Regions from separate parts of the Homo sapiens genome. Here regions 1, 2, 3 and 4 are each linked to region 5. The links are contacts of gene promoters, found by promoter capture Hi-C in blood cells and fetal thymus (Javierre and others, 2016). All regions are on one chromosome and are shown on one strand. The core of a region is centred on a gene start or on the middle of the fragment in contact, and the rest is flanking DNA. Distances in the headings are between cores, read along the strand shown. Region 1 overlaps SND1 (staphylococcal nuclease and tudor domain containing 1). Region 2 has its middle 9.6 kb from the start of PAX4. Region 3 overlaps SND1 (staphylococcal nuclease and tudor domain containing 1). Region 4 overlaps SND1 (staphylococcal nuclease and tudor domain containing 1). Region 5 holds the start of LEP (leptin).

What was found. Contacts are between HindIII fragments. The CHiCAGO score rates a contact against its expected background, and 5 or more counts as called.
Region 1: a contact is called between a fragment that was not itself captured here and the fragment with the promoter of LEP in region 5, in 16 of 17 cell types (neutrophils, naive CD8 T cells, naive B cells and 13 more). The highest score is 14.4, in neutrophils.
Region 2: a fragment that was not itself captured here is called in contact with the fragment with the promoter of LEP in region 5 in 3 of 17 cell types (endothelial precursors, erythroblasts and M1 macrophages); the score reaches 7.1 in endothelial precursors.
Region 3: a fragment that was not itself captured here is called in contact with the fragment with the promoter of LEP in region 5 in 13 of 17 cell types (naive CD8 T cells, total B cells, naive B cells and 10 more); the score reaches 10.9 in naive CD8 T cells.
Region 4: a fragment that was not itself captured here is called in contact with the fragment with the promoter of LEP in region 5 in 12 of 17 cell types (naive B cells, naive CD4 T cells, M0 macrophages and 9 more); the score reaches 10.4 in naive B cells.

What each region holds. Positions count from the first base shown.
Region 1 is chr7:127,715,504-127,718,232 of GRCh38, reverse strand. The region is part of intron 9 of SND1 (staphylococcal nuclease and tudor domain containing 1); the gene reads right to left. Among named protein-coding and RNA genes, the nearest start is that of SND1, 65 kb to the right of the region's middle. The HindIII fragment of the contact is 1,708 bases long and covers 402-2,109 here.
Region 2 is chr7:127,626,403-127,629,102 of GRCh38, reverse strand. No RefSeq gene overlaps it. Among named protein-coding and RNA genes, the nearest start is that of PAX4, 9.6 kb to the right of the region's middle. The HindIII fragment of the contact is 828 bases long and covers 938-1,765 here.
Region 3 is chr7:127,694,524-127,697,223 of GRCh38, reverse strand. SND1 (staphylococcal nuclease and tudor domain containing 1) reads right to left here. Exons shown (of 24, transcript NM_014390.4): 3 at 2,276-2,396. Among named protein-coding and RNA genes, the nearest start is that of SND1, 44 kb to the right of the region's middle. The HindIII fragment of the contact is 4,465 bases long and covers 1-2,700 here.
Region 4 is chr7:127,677,104-127,679,817 of GRCh38, reverse strand. All of the region lies in intron 1 of SND1 (staphylococcal nuclease and tudor domain containing 1), which reads right to left. Among named protein-coding and RNA genes, the nearest start is that of SND1, 26 kb to the right of the region's middle. RefSeq lists an enhancer at 568-657. The HindIII fragment of the contact is 745 bases long and covers 1,058-1,802 here.
Region 5 is chr7:128,239,877-128,242,576 of GRCh38, reverse strand. LEP (leptin) reads right to left here and starts at 1,299. Exons shown (of 3, transcript NM_000230.3): 1 at 1,271-1,299. RefSeq lists a cis regulatory region at 1,345-1,353 and promoters at 1,271-1,517, 1,271-2,700. The HindIII fragment of the contact is 7,258 bases long and covers 1-2,700 here.

The DNA.
Region 1 (2,729 bases), core at 6-2,505, 520 kb after region 5:
ACTGCCCACTTTCTCTGCTAGCTACAGATCTCTAATCAAGCCAACCCCATGCACGCTCACACCCCACACACCAAGAGATAACCTAAGGCATAGGAGCAAAAGTCTACATGGAAAAAGTCATTAGCTGGACTCAAATACATGCACTAAATCCAATTCCCTCCCCATTTCTTGAAGCCCAATCATAAAAGGAAAAAATGGTTTAATGATAATAAGGTGTAGGCTAAGGGCTGCCATGAGTCAAGAAAACCAGAGTTCCGTTAGGGGAACATCCATGCCTATCTTCAGCCTCTGTCACACTCTCTCATCTGTACAGCCCATCCACAGCGCTCACTGGGTGCAACGGGCTGCTGTTATTCAGATTCTGAAAACCCTGAAGCACACATAAAACAAACAAAAAAGCTTCCTTTTTGTTCAACAGCTTCCTGAGCTGTGGACATAACCACCAATAGCCCCAATGCTGCCAAAATTTCCAGTACCAGATAGAAACAAAAGGATTCTCAGCCCAAAAGGGCCTTCTACAAGCATGACCAGAGACTGTGGTTTGATGACGTCACTGAGAATGACACACAGATACCTATTCTCCTCTCTGAAATCATGACATCTGGCTGTTTTTCCCACTCCCTAAGGTTGTATGCTATGTCTCTTCTCCCCAGTCCCCTAGAAGAGTACAGCTGCCACCCTTGTCCTCAACAAAAACAAACCACAACAATATCCTGATGCAGGCACTTCCAGGCACCTAAGCACAACCAAACCAGATACTCTTAAGATGTACTTACATGGAAATCAGGCATCAGACAACTTTCAACAGAGGGACGTCCTACACACTACCTGACCAGTACTTCAAGATTGTCAAAGTCATCCAAAACAAAAAAAAAGTCTGAGACACTGGCATATCCAAAAGGAACCTAAGGAGATATGACAACTAAATGCAATGTGGTATCCTGGAACAGAAATAAAGTATAAATAAATGAATACCTGAATAAAATATAAACTTTAGTTAATAAAAATGTATCTATATTGATATACTAACTATAACAAAAATACAATACTCCCGTAAAATATTAATGACAGAGGAAACTGGGCTGAGGGTGGATGAGTAATATAAGAACTCTGTGCTACCTGCTTAATTTTTCTGTAAATCTAAAGAGTGACCTAAAAAATGAAGTCTCTAATAATTTAATTTTTAAAGCCAGGTTAATATTCTTTCAATCTCTTCTAACTCAATCACTTTCTTTTTCTTATCAGCACACTGGTTTACTAGTATAAGCTGCAAACCAAGTCTTGATCCCTTTTTGGTTCAGCAGAGCCCACCTTTCTAGTGAGACAATCTCCAGAACTTCCTTTCCAACTGAAAGTCAAATGGCAAAAGGCAAGGAAGTGGCAGGTATTTTTTGATTCTCTCCATATTATCACATAGGAATATACTGGAGAAATCCAGATAATGCCAAAAATATTCAGCTGCATCCTTGCTTAAAAACCATGTCAGAGAGCCACTTCCATTTAACATAGTACTGACAGTCTTAGCCAAAGAAGTTCAGCAAGAAAAAGAAACAAAAGGCATCTAAATTGGAAGGAAAGAAATAAAATTATCACTGTTCCCAGATGACGTATAGGTAAAAAACTCTAATAATTCCACAAAAACTGTTAGAATAAATGAATTCATGAAGTAGCAGGATATAAAGCCAACACACAGAATCAGCTGCATTTCTATAAATAATAAACAATCCAAAAAAAAAAAAACCTAAGAAAATAGTTCCTTTTCCAGTATCATCAAAAAAGAACAAAATACTTAGGAATTAACTCAACCAAGGAAGTGAAAAACTTGTACAAAGAAAACTACAAAACACTGTTGAAAGAAATTAGAGACATAAATAAACGGAAACACGTCCCATGATCATGGACTGGAAGACAATACTGTCAAGATGTCAATACTACCCAAAAGCGATTTACAGATGTAATGCAACCCTTATCAAAATCCCAGTGATGATTTTTATGGAAACAGAACAGCTCATCCTAAAATTCATATGGAATCTCAAGAGACCCTGAATAGCCAAAACAATCCAGAAAAAGGACAAAGCAGGAAAACTCACACTTCCTGATTTCAAAGCTTACTACAAAGCTACAGTAATCAATACCACATGGTACTGGCATAAAATCAGACATACAAACCAATGAAACAGAATGAAGTCCAGAAATAAACCCTTGCATATACAGTCAAATGATTTTTGAGATGGGTGCAAAGACCATTCAATGAGGAAATGACTGTCTTCAACAAATGGTCCTAAGAAAACTAGATATCCTCATGCAAAAAAACAAAGTTGAACCCTTATGTAACACCAAAACTAAAAACAAACTCAAAATGGATTCATTACTTAAATATAAGACCTATAAAACTACAAAACTCTTAGCAGAAAACACAGGGCAGAAACTTTGCAACATTGGATTTGGCAATGATTTCTCAAATATGACACCAAAGGAACAGGCAACAATAGTACAAATACAAATTAGATTTCATGAAAATTTTGTGTAACAAAGTAAAAGGCAACTGACAAAATAGGAGAAAATATTTGCCAATCATATACCCAACAAAGGATTAATATCCAGAATATATAGAGAACTCCTAAAACTCAACAACAAAAAAACAAAAACCTCAATTAAAAAACAGGCAAAGAGGCTTACAAGTGGGAGCTAAGCACTGGGTACACATGGACTAAAGACAGGAACAATAG
Region 2 (2,700 bases), core at 102-2,601, 610 kb after region 5:
CTTCAGAGAGTAAGAGCTGTTTTGATCCAGAACCAAGAAGTGGACCTGAGGATCAGTGAAGAGGAATTGGATGAGCGAGGATTAGCAGTGGAGGAGATGCCAGCTAGACTGATAATGAAACCTGGGACAATGGTTCCTTTCAAGTGTGGTTATTGCATTCAATGATGCCAAGCTGAAAATAGTGATAAGACTTAATTTATAATCACCTATCTTTACATAGCTTGTTCTCTGGTTAGTGTAATGCTTTTGTTGGGCTGAGCAGGTGTTGCTTTGGGGGCCTTTGTGGGCACAGCAAAGCTGAAGAGCTCTGGATTCCTGGCAGAGAGGTAGGATCCTTATCCTTAGGGAGTAAATTTTCTTTCCCGTTTCCTCTGGGTCTTGCTAAGCAGTGGAAAGTTACCCAAGCTGGAATGCAGAGTTTTCCTATGTGGGGCTTGACACAGCCTGATTTTCAGTGATGGCTAGAGAAAATACAGCGCCCCCTGCCACTCTAACCTAGGCCAGGCCAAGACTCCACAACCTTCAGAAAGTGCACAGGCAAAGACCTGGACTATTAGTGGCTTACGCTCCCTATCCCCCTCCCTTTAAAAAATGCAAAAGTTTGGGTATTTTTCTTTTCTTTTTATTTTTTTAGAGACAGGATCTCACTCTGTCATCCAGGCTAGAGTTCAGTGGTGCAAGCATTGCTCACTGTAGCCTCGACTTCCCAGGCCCAAGGAATCCTACCTCCTCAGCCTCCACTATGTTGTTGCCCAGGCTGGTCTTGTACTCCTGGGCTCAAGTGATCCTCTGGCTTCAGCCTCCTAAAGTGCTGGGATTGCAGGCATGAGCCACTGCACCCAGCCATTTTTAAGAAAGCTTTACTGCAAGTAGACTGGCAAGGAGACAGGAGGCTAATGCTTAAATCTGTCTTCCTGATCTGGGGATGGGTCAAGCTTTTATGGCATTTCTAATTAGTCCAGGGTGATGCCAATGCAGCCGGTCTGCCAGGCTGCTGGTATTACAATTATCAGGGGTTTTTTGTTGTGTTTCTTTTTCCTTCTTTTCTTTTCTTCCTTTCTTTCTTTCTTTCTTTCTTTCTTTCTTTCTTTCTTTCTTTCTTTCTTTCTTTCTTTCTCTCTCTCTCTCTCTCTCTTTCTTTCTTTCTTCTTTCTTTTTCTTCCTTTCCTTTCCTTTCCTTTCCTTTCCTTTCCTTTCTCTCTTTCTCTTTCTCTCTCTCTCTCTTTTGAGATGGGGATCTCTACCAAAAAACTATGTTGTCCAGGCTGGTCTCAAACTCCTGCCCTCAAACAATCCTTCTGCCACAGCCTCTTCAAATGCTGGGATTATGGGAATGAGCCACCACGCCTGGCAAAGTTTTGGTAGTTTTCAAAAGCAGCAGAAAGATAGCCACCCAACTATCTCCTAGGCAAGATAAATCTAGGCCAGAGAAGGAGTTTCATATAATAGGCTAGTGATCCCAAAGATAAAAAAGGCCAACTGAAGAAGCAGAGAGACAGAAATAATGGGAGCACAGAGTTACAGCAGGGAGGATGGCCTGGGAATCTCCTAGACTATAACTACTGAACTCAGTCAATAGATAATAATATTAACTGTTAGTGCACAATAGTAGTGTTAATAGTAATAATATAAAACACTTATATAGAATGTTCTACATTTGTTAATTTATATAATAGTCACAACAATCCTATGATGTAGCTACTATTGATATTTTTATTTTATACATGCAGAAAAATGAAGCACAGAAGGTTTTAAAATGTAAGCTTAAAAAAGGATGCAGGCTCCAAGAGGGCAGAGAATTCTGCCCTTTTTATTCACTGCAGTTATCCCAGTGCCTGGCACATGTTCAATAATTATTTGTTGAATTAACAGTTAACTGATCCAAGATCATGCAGATGGCATGACAGGCCTGGGATAGGAACTGAGGTTTGATGCCTCTACAATTCCCACTGTTAATTACTGAGCCATACTGTCCTAGATGCTGTTATAGGAGATGAACTTCATGTGTCTCTCAGCCTGAGTTACGTCTGCTTGATAAATCCTCACCCTCAAAGCTGGCTAGCTGAGGAAACACTTCCTAACTTGTTTTATGAGGCCAATGTCACCCTTATACCAAGAGATAAAGACATTGCAAGAAAGGAAAACATAGACCAACATTGCTCATGAACCTAGATGCAAAAATTCTCAACAAAATATTAGCGTATCAAATCCAACACTGTATAAAAAGAATTATACACCATGACCAAGTGGGATTTATTTCAGGTTTGCAAAGCTAGTTCCACATTAAAAACCATTCAGTGTAATTCACCACATCAACAAGCTAAAGAAGAAAAAAATCATGTAATCATATCAGCTGACTTAAAAAAAGCATTTAACAAAATCCAATACCCACTCACGATAAAAATGCTCAGCAAACCAGGAATGGAGGAGAACTTCCTCAATTTGATAAAGAAATCTACAAAAATTGCACAGCTTAGGTTCATCAGTTATAACAAATGTACCACTCTACCCTGGTTGGGGATATCGATAACAGGGGGAGCTATGCATGTGTGGGACAAAGGTATATGGGAAATCTCTGCACCTTGTGTTTAATTTTGTTGTGAACCTAAAACTGCTCTAAAAAGTAAAGTCTATTAAAAAATACATATTGCCTTGGACAGGAAGACTTGATATTGTGAAGACAACATTTCTCTCTAAATT
Region 3 (2,700 bases), core at 184-2,683, 550 kb after region 5:
TCCTTACTTATCAAATTCTGAATTTGACCAAGTCACATCTGGAGACAGTATTCAGAGCAGGTGGGTGATTATATTGTCTTCAAAAGCCAGAAAACTAATCATCTCTTCAATAAGTTCTAGGTTAACCACAAAGTCTCAAATTTTACCATTCTCTCCCATCATAAAAAAAAGTGGGTAGCAATAAAATAAACACAAATGCTAATTATCTAAGCCACTGTTTTCTTTCATTATAATAGAATTGGCATTAAGAGTTAGTTAAAATACCTTAGTGAAAATATTAAACATTAAACTATTTCTTTATCTTTAAAATGGAAAGATTATAAGCAATTCCAACCATTCTTTAAGTACATATTTATTGATCACCTATGTGCCAGTTCTTATTCTAAACACTAATGTGTTAACATACTAAATTAAATTATATCCAGTTTGTAATGTGAGTCAGTTTAAAAAGTAAACTTTTAAAAAACAACTCTACAGATAATTTAAAATATCAGCTTCTCTTAAAATAAACAATTTGGCCATTTTGGCTGAAGACCAAGGGTATTAAAATGAACTCTTAGGGGTGCTCTACATATAGAAATATCTGTGCCCACAATTATCTGTGGTCCGGTAAGGTCTCTTGTGGGGTAACAGAAGACTGATCAGCTATTATGGAATTGAAATTTTTTAGGTAATGAAATCCTTAACAATTGCATTTTGAAGATAGTACACTTCTTTTCCTCTTACATTCTTTCTAACCAGTAACCACTCAATAATTATCTTTAAGCGTTTTGTTTCTTACTATATTATAAGAATTACGGGTAAAAAGCAAACTTATTTCCCTTTTTGAAAAGAGGCCTTAGGTTTCTATAATTTCTCATTCAAATAAGAAGCAGGTAGCCGTTTTCTGGGAGACTAAAAAGAGGTATTTCTCTACTAGGTAGGAAATCGAACAAGATGCCTCAAAGGTCATTCTCAACTCATTTTTCTGAGACCTCTATCATTAAAAACAGAGTCTTAGCAGAATACTGTTAGCACTGTCATTCTACCCTGCTTGCTTATTGCTAGCACTGACTATCCAACTCAAATAGATTATCCAAATCAACTCCGTTACATGAGCTATCTGAAAGGTTTTTAATCAAAGAATCAAAGGAAACTTAAAAAAAATTCTGCTCCACAAATAGTTCAATGAACATAACTTCATGTTCATCTGGCTGCTTTCTGGAGAACATCCTACCAATTCCTCTTTCAACATCCTATTTCTGTTCCAACTCCATTCCTCAATCTTATTCTCTTACTACCTAATCCAAAAAGCCCAGAACATCTAATATCCCATGAAGCATCTGGCCCAGCTATACAATATGCACACACACAAATATCCAGAGTGAGGTGCTTTACATATACTATTTTTTTGTTTTTTGACCAGGATCTCACTCAGTCACTCAGGCTAGAGTGCAGTGGCATGATCATGGCTCACCACAGACTTGACCTCCCAGACTCAGGTGATTCTCCCACCTCAGCCTCCCGAGTAGCTACGACTACAGGCGTGCGCCACCACGCCTGGCTAATTTTTCCATAGAAACGGGGTTTTACCATGTTGCCCCAGGCTGGTCTCGAACTCTTGTGCTTAAGAGATCCTCCTGCCTCACACTCCCAAAGTGCTGGGATTACAGGTGTGAGCCACGGTGCCTGGCCTATACTATCTCTTTCAACTCTCTCAATAACTTACAAATGAAGAAACTAGGGCTTACAGAGGTTAAGGGTTAAGTAAGGGCACATGGTAGGAAATCAGAATTCTAACCTACATCTATGCAACCCCGACATCTGTGCTCCTTCCATTCCATTAAAAACATGTAGGCTGCAAAAAACCACAGGCCCTCAACAAATCTTCCTTTCCAAAAGAGTTCCCAAGAGAAGAAAAGCCACAAGATAGATAAAAGAAATAGAAGATACAAAAGGAAATCTATAGAAATTCAATTAGCATTCTGACCTAGAAGCACAGAGCCATTGAGTTCCATGAGTGAATGGCCTAAACATGAGGAAGAATGCAACTCTATACTACATGCACCTAAACCAAAGCAGGAAAAGGGGTACACAAGGAACAGGAACACCGGGGGCATGCCTCTGTACACATATATTCCCTGTGCTCAGGGCCCAAAGCATTTGCATTTATGCCTTCAGCCAACTGTCCTAGAGCTTCCTCCACCAGAACCCACACTGGCCTTCCACCACAAGAAAACTGATCTTTAACAGAACTTTAGACTTGAGAGAAATGAGTCCTCTCCCTGCAGCTCACCTTTTCCAAGGTAGATCATGCCATACTCTCGCCCCTGGGGAGTCTTGTTTTCTATCGTGAAACAGACTTCCTTCCCAATCAGCTTCTTTCGAAGGAACTCTCGAGCTGGAAATGCCCAGGGCTGAAAGACAAAACAAATATGTCACATGAGAACTGCCTAGTTTCAGATGCCAATCAGCATTCAAGCAACTTCATACCTTCAGTAAATGTCTGAGTACCTACCATGGTCCTGGCCCTGCGCTGGACCTTGAGAATATAAAAATGAAATGCACACAATGCAGATCGCACACTTAGGGGGCTCATAAAAAAAGGAGGGTCCAGCAGTTGGTTTAACTAACACAGACACTAAAAACAGGCCTCAGAGTTTTCCAGACACTGGCAGCAGGACTTTTTCCCTATCACTGTCTGTTCAGAGTTATAGCTTA
Region 4 (2,714 bases), core at 181-2,680, 560 kb after region 5:
AAATATTGTATATCCATACAATTGGAATATAATTCAGAAATAAAAAGAGATTGCGTACTGATTGATGTTACAACATGGGTGAGCCTTGAAAACATTATGTTAAGTAAAAGAAGCCAGACACAAATGGCCACATACTGAACTGTTCCCATTATATGAAATGTGCAGAAAAGGGAAATCCATAGACAGAACATAGACTAGTGGTTCCCAGGGACTGACAGAAGGGGAGAGTGGGGAATATACTAATGGATACAGATTTCTTTGGAGGTGATGAAAATATTCCAAATTAGTAGTGATTGTTACATGATTGTAGTAAAAAGCCACTGAATTATATACTTTAAAAGTGTCAACTTTATGGTATGTTAATTATATCTAAAAAAAAAATTTTAAGGTCCAACACAGAAGTACAAAAACATGGGGACATAAAATGTATATTTTACTATAGAGCCTTCCATATTCTTGCAGGAAGATTAGATGCTAGCTGAAAAACATTAACAAAAAAATTTTTTTAAATGGCAGCTGCCTGAGAAGCAAAAGTCAGGCATGGTGACTCACCCCAGAAGCGGCTATAAGTATAAACCTTCAAATCCTCTAGAAATAACTAGGTAGGAAGCCACAGGAAAAAGACAGAACTTCAGTGAAATCTACAAAGCTCTAAAAAGGATGAAAATGGCCAGAAGCAATACAAGCTTTTTCTCAGAAACAATATAGCGAGCATCCTGTGTGTCACACAGAAAGGAGAACCAGGAAAGTCATTGAGCTGAAGGGTCCATGATGCCATTCTTCAACTGTCACAACCCAAAGGCTGCACATGCAGGGACTCTACGTCAGAGTGGCAAAGAAGCAGGCCAGGGACTCCCCTCTGGACAAGGTGTTTTCTACACCTAAAAATACCATCAGGGGATGGGGAAGGAGCTACTGTAAAAAGAGGAGGCAAAGTTTGGTCCTAATGGATACCCTTTAATGAAATGAAAACATTTAAAGAAACTGAATGAAAGCAAGAGTAACTAAAAAGAAACTCAATTGGGGAATATTTCAAAATGCATATCAGGAAAAAGCTTCCTGGCAGTCAGAGCTGTTGCCTCCACAGGAAGAATCATCTCTTGAAAATTAAAAAGTCATTTAGACAAAGCAAGCAATCCCAAAACAACATAAGCTGTGTGGTCTGGGAGGCCTTTCTCTGAATACTCACCAACACAGCCAGTTTTTTGTTTGTTTTGTGTGTGTGTGCGTATGTGTTTTTGTATTGCTTTTTGGTTTTTTTCCTGGCAAGAACAAGAGGCAAACCTAAATTAGAGGGCCCAACATTCAAACCCAATGAACCGGAAGCCCAGGAGCTCATGGCAGTGCTGACTCACTGGCTCTGGATACACTTGCAGACCCAACAGGTACAAGCACAAGTTGCTGCTCCCGAGCCAACTGTGCCAAAAATCGGGCCGCAGTTTACATATACGGAGTTTAAATCTCAGGAGGACCATAACAATCATCTACAGAGAGACTTCACATAAAGACAGCATCTAATCTGGGCTATTTTATTTTACAGCTGAGAAATCTGAGAGCAAGAGAGGTAAAGTAACTTTTGCCTAAAATAACCAGGATTGACAGCAGAGCAAGGATTGGGGTTGAAGTTTCCCAATCCTGATATTCCACTATGCCACACATACAAACAAGCATTTGGGAGCTGATTTCTGTTAAAATGGTATCTGAGGTTACCTACTGATTAAATCTTTTTCTCAATTAAAATCTCTGTTTATATGTGCCAGTAGAACAGGTGTTGGAGACCAAATCACTAAGCAAGTAAAGCTTCCATGAGCTGGCTGTCCCAAATCATACCAACATTTATTAAACCGTACCATCTGCAAGGCAAGCTGACTTAGAGTCCAATATTACAAAAGAACACCCAAAAAGTAGATGCAAAGAAGAAAACTTCAAAACGATAAAATGCAGGATTGGCGAACTACAGCCTACTAGCCAAATCCAGCCTACTGCCTGTTTTTGTACAGACCATGAGCTAAAAATGGTTTTTACATTTTTAAAAGGTTGGAAAAACATCAAAAGAAGATTATGTAACATGCAAAAGAGTATGAAAGTCAAATTTCAGTGTCCATAAATAAAGTTTTATTGGAACACGTCAAGCTCATTCATTTATGTATTGTCTAGGGCTGCTTTTGCACTAGAACAGCAGAGTTGAGTAGTTGCGACAGAGACCATATGGCTGGCAAAGCCTAAAATATTTATTACCTGGCCCTTTACAGAGTAAGTTTGCCAACCCCTGATATAAAGCATTATGACAAGCGAGTGAGATGAAAACTAGTTTTATGGTCGTCTAAATAGCAAGTGCATGGCAAAAATAAATTCTGGACCAATTCAAGTTACACAAACTGCTCGTTTTTATAATCAGAGAAGGAGCTGCAGTATATGGCAATAAGAATTTAGTTTCAGAATCAAATCAATGTCAGCAGTGACCTTTGAAAGTTATTTAATTGGCTCCATTAGCCTCCATTTCATCATTTATAAAATAAATACATAAGAATATATATAAGTTGTTATGATCCAGTTTGTCAATCTGTTGCTGAAATAAAAATAAAATAAAGAGTTGTTATGAAACCTAAACAAAATAAAAGCACTTAGCACAGAGCCCAGCACAAGGACACAATAAATATAGCCAACATTGTTGTTACAAGAAATGGCTCAAAGTGTGGTCTGCTATAAAGACT
Region 5 (2,700 bases), core at 50-2,549:
GGAAAGAACCTAAAAGCATCCACTGTTTCTCTCTTGCCTTGTCTCCCTGCCTAAGTGAGAGAAATGATCAGTGTGGCCTTCTTGTTTCTAAGGGCATTAGAACAGGAGCACTCACGTTGCTAGAAGCCTCCATATCTGGTTCTGCAGACAATCCTAATATGAAAGAGATTGGCAAAATTCCCCAGTTCCAGCTGCCCATGGCCCACCTCAGAATCCTACAGAACAAACACAACTCCGGCTGCCAGAGGTCATTCTGCACTGCAAAGGAAGAGAGCCTGTGCTCCTGGAACGGTACCACCAAGTCTCTGCTCTTCACCCACCTCCCCAAAGATCACCCTTCCAACAGAAATTAATCACCTCTTGGAAGCTGCTATTCTGAAATGACAGCCAGGCCACTTGTCTCACTTGGACCTAACTGTATTTAAGGAGTCACTTTCCCAAAGCACCACTATCTTTAAACTATAGAAACAGGAGTGTAAAGGCGATGGCACCCACAGTGAAATCCAAACCAAGCCCAGACTGAAGGAAGGCTATAGGTGAGCCTGGTGGGCCAACAGCGCGTATTTAGCAGTCCTGGCTAGAAGTTCCCTAATAACCAGTTCTGACCCCCAGAGACACCTCATTGTATGCATTGCAAAGAAGGCAATTTGCATGGCTTTGAGGACAGATCTGGTAAGACCCTGCACAATTTCTCTGGAAGATTTTGAGTCTTCCTGACACTTGTTTCCCCCCACCTCTACTCATCCTTGCCTTCCTCCCAGGCATTGGCCTTACACAGCCCCTCTCATTCAGAGGTCAGGAACTTCCCTGGAAAATGAATCCTGAATTCCTACCCGCAGAGCAAGGCAATGTCTGGGACTGAGACTGATCACTTGCATCTGCGTCTCTCCTACCCCCAACTTTATCTCCTTCAGACTGGGGTGGGACATCCTGATCTTTGGGGATGTGCCCAAGGCAATTTCCAATGCATCTCAGCTCTGCGAATGCCACCAGGTTGGTGGGTCTGACAGTCTCCCAGGGACCTGGCTGGTTCTGCAAGGTCCTGCCTTCTGGGCACCGGCACAGCCCAGCAGCAAATCCAACGCTCCCCAGCTCCCGGTAACCTTCTATCTGGCTAGAACTCGGTACAAAGCTATCATAGTCCAGAACTAAGCCATCCGCCCTGCATCCCTCCTGACTCAGTTTCCCCGGGATCCAGAGTTGTGTGGGGCCCTGTGGCCTGCCAAGAAAGACCAGCAGAGAAGGAGGAAGGAGCGCGCCGGGGCCTTACCTTGCAACCGCTGGCGCTGCGATTCCTACGGGGCTCCATGCCTGCCCGCCCCTCTTATAGCGGCCCGATCACAACTTGCGCAACTGCCCCGCAGGCCCCGGCGCATTTCTAGCGCCAGCTCCCGCCCCGCCCCTCAGGGTAGCGACGTGCCGGGCGGCTGCTAGCCCTGGGCCCGCAGTGTGCACCTCGCGGGGCCTCGAGGGAGGGCCTCGGCGCGCCAGGAGCCACGCGCGCACCCTTGGGTACCTCCCAAAAATTTGGGGGTGGCTGGTAGGAGCGAGAAATCCTTGATGTCCCTCCAGAGGCTCCGGCGCGACTATGGCGCAAGGACCAGCCCCTTGGGAAGGTGCTTCGAGCCGCGCGGGGCGCGGTCGGGGCGGGGGTGGCTGTGAGGGGCTCCGCGGAGCGGGCTGGGGCATACGGCTGCGCCCTCGTTGGTCCTGGCGCGGCTTCGGGGTGGGAGCGAATCGGGACTCGGCCCCGACGGCCCTGGACGCCAGGGAAGCCCAGGGTTAGAGGGAGCGGCCCGCAGTGCGCCAGGCTCCCCGACCCAGATTGCGGGGTTGGGGGTTCTGAAGTCCCACCCCTTCTCTGGCACGCGGAGAATCGAGTTCCAAGCCTCAGGGCAAGTTGTCTCTGGCTGGCACCCCAGGGAGTGCACGCTCTCTGGAGGGCTCCAGGCGGGCACTGTGGCCTTTGGGGACACTCTGGACATACTGTGGGTCTCCATCCTCAACTCCGTATTTCCTACGTACAAAGTGGGGGTTGGGGGGTGGTCCCAGATGTAGCCACGTTTTTGTCATCATAGCCTGTGAGTGGTGTGGTAGGCATGTTTCACCTGTATCGTTTGTAGTTCCCCGCTTTACATGATGGGTTGGTTTGTTTTGTTTTGTTTTGTTTTGTTTTACCCTTGGGCTTCAGGGATGAGGAATCTAAGGTCCAGCGAGGTTAAATGACTTTCCTTAGAATCCACAGCTGGTAAGGAATAGCAATGGGCTAGGAACCCAGGCCTATTCTGGTCCCCACTGCGCAGAGCAGCTCCAAAAACAAACCACTCCATTGAGAACCAACCCAGCCAGGCGTGGTAGCTCAAGCCTGTAATCCCAGCACTTTGGGAGGCCAAGGTGGGTGGATCACCTGAGGTCAGGATTTCGAGACCAGCCTGGCCAACATGGTGAAACCTCATCTCTACTAAAAATACAAAATTAGCCAGGTGTGGTGGTGAGTGTCTGTAATCCCAGCTACTTGAGAGGCTGAGGCAGGAGAATGGCTTGAACCTGGGAAGTGGAGGTTGCAGTGAGCCAAGATCAGACCATTGCACTACAGCCTGGGCAACAAGAGTGAAACTCTGTCTCAATAAAAAAAACAAAACAAAACAAAACCCATAACATAAAGCGGGGAACTGCAAATGACGTTGGTGAACCGAGCCT